2 separate regions of the Homo sapiens genome follow, and region 2 is linked to region 1. Evidence: promoter capture Hi-C in 16 types of primary human blood cells and fetal thymus (Javierre and others, 2016). All regions are on one chromosome and are shown on one strand. Each heading gives the region's core, a stretch centred on a gene start or on the middle of the fragment in contact. The rest is flanking DNA. Distances are from core to core; before and after follow the strand shown. Region 1 holds the start of GCFC2 (GC-rich sequence DNA-binding factor 2). Region 2 overlaps MRPL19 (mitochondrial ribosomal protein L19).

Evidence for each region. The method cuts DNA at HindIII sites, captures the fragments that hold promoters and counts their contacts. A CHiCAGO score of 5 or more calls a contact.
Region 2: a fragment that was not itself captured here is called in contact with the fragment with the promoter of GCFC2 in region 1 in 3 of 17 cell types (non-activated CD4 T cells, activated CD4 T cells and total CD8 T cells); the score reaches 6.2 in non-activated CD4 T cells.

What each region holds. Positions count from the first base shown.
Region 1 is chr2:75,709,257-75,712,950 of GRCh38, forward strand. GCFC2 (GC-rich sequence DNA-binding factor 2) reads right to left here and starts at 1,659. Exons shown (of 17, transcript NM_003203.5): 1 at 1,335-1,659. The coding sequence starts at 1,599. It overlaps LOC105374813 (a long non-coding RNA gene), which reads left to right and starts at 1,683. Exons shown (of 3, transcript XR_940260.2): 1 at 1,683-1,778. RefSeq lists a silencer at 1,191-1,490 and an enhancer at 2,469-3,040. The HindIII fragment of the contact is 8,873 bases long and covers 1-3,341 here.
Region 2 is chr2:75,648,660-75,652,066 of GRCh38, forward strand. The region is part of intron 2 of MRPL19 (mitochondrial ribosomal protein L19); the gene reads left to right. It also overlaps the pseudogene SUPT4H1P1. Among named protein-coding and RNA genes, the nearest start is that of MRPL19, 3.6 kb to the left of the region's middle. The HindIII fragment of the contact is 2,419 bases long and covers 769-3,187 here.

The sequences.
Region 1 (3,694 bases), core at 409-2,908:
AAGAGTTTGAGAACCACTATTCTAGAAGGCAAGAGAAAAGGAACTCCTGACTTCAACTTTCATCTACAAAGTTTAACCAGAAAACAAATATAAAAGGTCATGAAAACTTTAGACAAATAGAAGGTCACAAGAAAGACCAAGAAATCACGAAGATCATAAACCTGGAGGACATTATGTTACATGAAATAAGACAGGCACAGAGAGACAAACACCACATGATCTCACATATGTAATCTAAAAAAGTGGAAATCAGAAATCACAGAAGCAGAGAGTCGAGTAGTGGTTAGAAGGGACTGAGTGAGGTTGAGGGTAGTTGGGAAGATACTGGTCAAAGGGCACACATTTTAATTAGACAAGAGGAATTCTATTCTACAACACGGTGACTAAAATTAATAACAATGCATTGCATACTTGAAAATTAGTAAGAGTAGATAGTAAGTGTTCTCACCACAAAAAAAAGTAAGTACCTAAGGTAAAGCAAATGTTAATTAGCTCCATTTAGTCACTGTAGACACATTTCAAACATCATGTTGTACACTATAAGTATATACATTTTTTACTTCTCAATAAATTAATAAAAATCACTTTAATGACAATAAAAAATAATAGGAAGATTTTAGCTCTCAAGACTAACCAAAAACCGTATTCCTCATTAAGCTACAATTCCAACTCAGAGCAGCACATTTTATTTAAACAACTTTATGCTGCCTTACACCTGTATTTAAGAACTCAAAGGTACTTCAAAATGACGACACTATATCTAACACCATTACTGGTACCATCTACAGTGTCATGAATCTCTATCATGCTTCTTTGTGTTGTATATATTACTATTAGTTTTTGCAAATAACTGGTGAAAAAAGAAAATAAACAAAGGGGAATGTCCCAAAACCTAGATTCCTGTACTACTCTGGCTAAATGTTTTCAAGAAAGATAAGTTGGTCAAGTGTCTAAAAGGTACATATAACTTCTGCCCACTTAATAGTATTATAAATTATTGAACTTTGTTGTGACAGTTTAGGTTCTTCATAAACTTTGATAACTGTGTTAGTTATAACTGATGGAGTCAACTGATGGTGAAAACGAAGAGCCTCCCAACTGTACACGATTGTTTTATTTCCCCCAAGGAGTCCAAAAGGCAGATGCAGATAGCGGGCAAGTGCTCGAGCTATTTTCTCGCTCACTACCTTCTGGATAAGTCTTTCTGGATAAGACTCAGCATGGCTTGTGGTCGGCAGCAAGTTATAGAACCCCCAGAGAAGGATCCAGAGACCCCGCGGCCCCTTCCCGCCCTGTGCCGTCACCTCCCCGCTTCCCCGCGTCTCCCTGGACACCTGAGCCTTCGTCCGCGCGGGGAGCCGCTTTGGTGGCACGCCGGGAGCTCGCCCAGACCCGGCCCCGGCCACGAGGGCCCCGAACCCGGTGGGGCAGTCCCGCCACCTGCGCGCGGCCTCCTCCAGAGGGCGGCTCTTCCTCCGCAGAACCCGGGACCGGAAGTTCCCTCGGCGCCCCAGGCTCAGCAGGCGACTCCTCGGCGCCATCGCTGTCGCTGGAATCAGCCGCGCGCTGCCGAAAAGTCCTTTTCGGCCTGTGAGCCATGGCCGAGGCCCGAGCGCCCGGCGCCCTAGAACCCGCTGAACCGCAAGCCGCAGCTTCAGTGCCCGCCCCCTAGGGCGCGCTCCCGCCGCGCCTGGCCGCCGAGTGCGCGCGCCCGTCCCGCCTGCCTTCTGCTCACCGCTACTCTGTCTGCGCCTGCGTGCTTTGGCTCCCTGGATCTGGTAGGCCGAGTTCTGTTCTGGGGCCTGAGTTTGCAAAGCATTCCCTTTGCCAGGTTAGGTTGCGTGGACTGACACCTTAGAGATTTTCACGGCCTATCCGGTCTGAGTCCCACGGAGAGCAGAACTCACGTGCTGTCCTTGTGCAAACCCCATCCAGAAATCAAGCGTTATGCTTTCCGTCCTGGACTGGAGCCAGATCCGTTGTCTTTTACTTTCTGGAGAGAGTGCCCCCTCCAACCAAGATTTAAAACAAACGAAACCCCAGCAGTGTGAGGCTCGGGGTAGGAGGAGATGCCTTTGAGAACAAAACCATAAAGTCTGTACATAAACAATGCATACAGACTAGCAAAAATCAAATGACTTCCCCCAGGCAGCAGGGCTTCAAGAGAGCCTGGTTAAATGTTTTCACCCTTAAAGAAACTATCTAAAAACAAAAAGCTATTGTCTGACGCAAATTTGTTCTATATTCATCAAGCTCTGTCTACTACTGTATCTGTATGGTAGAAATACTATATAATGTTGAGCTACTGCACACCTGTTATCAACTCCATGTTTAGTGGCGTCATATTGAGAGGTGACAGCGGGCCAGCTGGAGTTCCGGGTGGGCATGGGCTTGGCGGGCCTGCACTCGGAGCAGCCGGCCGGCCCTGCCAGCCCCGGGCAGTGAGGGACTTGGCACCCGGGCCAGCGGCTACAGAGGGTGTACTGGGTCCCCTAGCAGTGCCGGCCCACCGGCGCTGTGCTCGATTTCTCGCCGGGCCTTAGCTGCCTTCCCGCGGTGCAGGGCTCGGGACCTGCAGCCCGCCATGCCTGAGCCTCCCATCCACTCCATGGGCTCCTGTGCTGCCCGAGCATCCCCGACGAGCACCACCCCCTGCTCCACGGCGCCCAGTCCCATCGACCACCCAAGGGCTGAGGAGTACGAGCGCACGGCGCCGGACTGGCAGGCAGCTCCACCTGCAGCCCCGGTGCGGGATCCACTAGGTGAAGCCAGTTGGGCTCCTGAGTCTGGTGGGGACATAGAGAGTCTTTATGTCTAGCTCAGGGATTGTAAATACACCAATCAGCACTCTGTATCTGGCTCAAGGTTTGTAAACACACCAATCAGCACCCTGTGTTTAGCTCAAGGTTTATGAGTGCACCAATCGACACTCTGTATCTAGCTGCTCTGGTGGGGCCTTGGAGAACCTTTATGTCTAGCTCAGGGATTGTAAAAACACCAATCGGCACTCTGTATCTAGCTCAAGGTTTGTAAACCCACCAATCAGCACCCTGTGTTTAGCTCAAGGTTTGTGAGTGCACCAATAGACATTCTATCTAGCTGCTCTGGTGAGGCCTTGGAGAACCTGTGTGTGGAAACTCTGTATCTAACTAATCTGATGGGGATGTGGAGAACTTTTGTATCTAGCTCAGGGATTGTAAACGCACCAATCACGGCCCTGTCAAAACAGGCCGCTGGGCTCTACCAATCAGCAGGATGTGGGTGGGGCCAGATAAGAGAATAAAAGCAGGCTGCCCCAGCCAGCAGTGGCAACCCGCTCCGGTCCCCTTCCACAGTGTGGAAGCTTTGTTCTTTCGCTCTTTGCAATAAATCTTGCTACTGCTGACTCTTTGGGTCCACGTGGCTTTTATGAGCTGTAACACTCACCGTGAAGATCTGCAGCTTCATTCCTGAGCCCAGCGAGACCACAAACCCACCAGAAGGAAGAAACTCCAAACACATCTGAACATCAGAAGGGGCAGACCCCAGACGCGCCACCTTAAGAGCTGTAACGCTCACCGCGAGGGTCCGCAGCTTCATTCTTGAAATCAGTGAGACCAAGAACCCACCAATTCCGGACACAATATTGGCACCTTGAAATCAGCCATAAAGGGACTACTTATACCATATAAATTGGAAGACCTTAGAAGTCCAG
Region 2 (3,407 bases), core at 728-3,227, 60 kb before region 1:
CCAGCCTGGCCAACATGGCGAAACCCCCATTTCTACTAAAAGTACAAAAAAAAAAAAAAATTAGCCAGGTGTGGTGGCATGTGCCTATAATCCCAGTTACTCGAGAGGCTGAGGCAGAAGAATTGCTTGAACACAGGATGCCGAGGTTGCAGTGAGCCGAGATCGTGCCACTGCACTCCAGCCTGGGCGATAGAGCAAGACTCTGTCTCAGAAAAAAACAAAAACAAAATTATACGAAACAATATATGTTGCCCAGACATACATGCATATGAAAAGTAAAAAGAAATGTAAGGGGGGCCTTCTGAAACTTTGCCAAACAGTCAAACCTAACTTTACCAGTATTGGTACCAGTTGATATTATGTGTCTCCTGATGTGACAGAATAAGTTGTTCACATCATCTCCCTGTAATATTCTTACTAAAATTATTTAACCTTAGTCTAGGCATGTGGAAACAATCCAGAATCCAGAGATGAGATAGTAGGCCTTGACTGTTCAAAAAAGTTAATGTTATAAAAATACAAAGTTGGAAAAAAGTCCTAGTCTGAGAGACTAATGACCAAATATGTGTGAAGCTTGATTGTATTTTGAATTGGGCAACGAATAGATGTAAAATACCTTCCCAGGATAATGACATACATTTGAGTATGAACTCTGTATTAGACCAAGCTTGTCCAACCCACAGCCCAGGACAGCTTTAAATGTGGCCCAACACAAATCTGTAAACTTTCTTAAAACATATGAGATTTTTTTTGTGCCTTTTTTTTTTAAGCTTACCAGCTATTGTTGGTGTCTTTTATGTGTGGCTCAAGATAATTCCTCCAGTGTGTCCCAGGGAAGCCAGATGATTGGATACCTTTGTATTAGATTATGTTATCAAATTAATGCTGACTTTTATAGGTGTCAGAAGGGTATCGTGATAATATAGGAGCAAGTCCTTATTCTTAGCATAAGCCTTCTAAATTATTGAGGGATGAAATGCCTTGCTGTTCCATTTTTTTGAGACAGAGCCTTGCTTTGTCATCCAGGCTGGAGTGCAGTGGCATGATCTTGGCTCTGCAACTCCTACTCCTGGGCCCCTCCCTACTCAGTCTCCCAAGTGGCTGGGACTACAGGTGCCCGCCACCATGCCTGGCTATTTTAAAAATTTTTTTGTTGTAGAATGAGGTCTCACTATGTTGCCTAGGCTGGTCTGGAACTCCTGGGCTCAAACGATCTACCCTCCTCGGCCTCCCAAGTGTTGGGATAACAGACGTAAGCTACCACACCTGGCTGACATTTTCAAATGGTTCAGAAAAAAATGATATGTGTATATAAAGCAAATATAGCAAAATTTTAGCAGTTGGTAAAAGTGGATGAAAGATCTACAGGTGTTCATTGTATTACTATTTTTTGGTAGGCTTTAAAATTTTCAAAGTAGAAAATTGAGGAAGAGAAAGAAATTCATGGGAATAATCACCAAATTTAGGATAGTAATGAACTATCCTAAATACACAGGGGCTTCCACAATATTGATAATTTATTTCTTGAGGTGGGTGGTAAAGACATGAATATTCATTGTACTGTCATTTATACTTTTTATGTAGATTAAATATTTCATAATGAGCTTAAAATCAGTTAAAGAAGAAAAAAAGAAGATTATTATTTTTTAAGCAAAAGGATTTCACCTTTGTAAGACTTACACAATTTTCACATAGCTTCATTTCTACAATCACAACAATCCTGAGGTAAACAGGCAGGGTCTAATCATTCTCTTTTTACAGAGGGAGAACCAGCAACTTAGGGAAATCAAAACGGGGACACTAACAGGATTTCTGTGGAAATTTAAGTAAATGAGAATTTATGGTGAATTTTTTATTCTAAAACGAATACCTCACCTTGGCCAAAATGGGACATTACCCAAGGTCCCCTACTAGGCCAGAGGAGAAAAGGAAGGACTTACCTCCTACAGAGGCACAAACAAGGCAGACTAGGACCCAGCAGTTGCCTAAGGCCCAAGGGTCTCCAGTTAGGAGAATGTGAAATGCAGGGATGTGAGACTGGCCTAAGGTATAGGAAGAGCGGTAAACAGAAGAGAAGAGACGAGGAGGGGGAAAAGCAAGAATTATTAAACGTGGTCAAGGAGCGAAGAGCACTATGAAGCCTCAGGATTTCTTCAAGGGATACTGCTGTGCCAGGTCTAGAGGGCAGAAAGATACAACCACGAGACCCCAGGACTACCAAGCTGATGGGATTACCTAGCCTCTGGACAGCACCTTCTGATTGGAAGCAAGGAAGCACACTAGAAAGGCTGCAGTACAGAAGGCTCAGAGACAGTCAGTAGGGAGTAGAAGGGCCTCTGCTGTTCTGGGAAGATTCTTACAGCATAAACAAGCTCTTACTGTGCCTAAGAGAAAGGGAGAGGGAGGCAAGGAATGTATCATGGCCTTAAGAACTTTCTAGAGGTTCATATTTATTGGCATTTGACCTAGAGTCCTTGCCATGGGCAAGGTGCATCCCTGGGCCATGGATAGGAAAATCAGCATCCTACTTTCTCTTCAGTTCGATCTGTTAATCCACCAACCCAAATCCCTCCCACCCGCACCTGTCATCCAAGGAAGAGAAAATGGTTCAGGGACACGATGTGCTGCAGCTGTGTCTCTGGATTTGTAGGTCTCTCCTCGACTTTTCAGCTCCTACACGATTCCTTGGGGCAGGTGACCAGTGAATGACACCGCATATGTACCTGGCTTAAAGTTACTGACTCGCTGCCACTTGGAGACCTAGCTGTCCTCTGGACTCATCATTGCAATGATTCCATCAAAGGAAGAGCTAGTGCAGTCATATACCATCTCAGTTACTCTTCGTCTGTAGATAGGTGTTACAGTTGTCAGAACCTTCATATTCAAACTGGTCTATAGTCTTGACCAGCAAACACAGCCAACAAGCCTGCAGATGCCCCAGGTCCTTCAGCACCATCTCCAGGGCCATCTTCTCTGATCAGGAAGATCATTTTAAAAGTCAATTTATAATTAGTGATTTATATGTTGATGTCTTTTCTGACATAATTTATTATAGCATGTATAGCTCAGTGTGAGGCCTGTAGTAATGGTTATAGGCTTTGGAGACTGACCAACATACCTACATTTAAATCTTGATTTGACAGATTTATAGCTAATGTAGCAATGGGTTAGTTATTTACCTTTTTCAAGCTTCAGTTTCTTGCTCTGTAAAAAGGAGATGACACCAAACCCACATGGTTGCTAGAAGGATTAATTTATGCTATAGATGTTTCATAAAGCTTTTAACAAAATACCAGGTGAGTACTCAGGAATTGTTAGCTATTTTCATGAGCATTAACAATTTTAGAAATAAGATTGACTTTTATTTAGACAATGAAGAATAAAATACATCAATATCATATTTAATT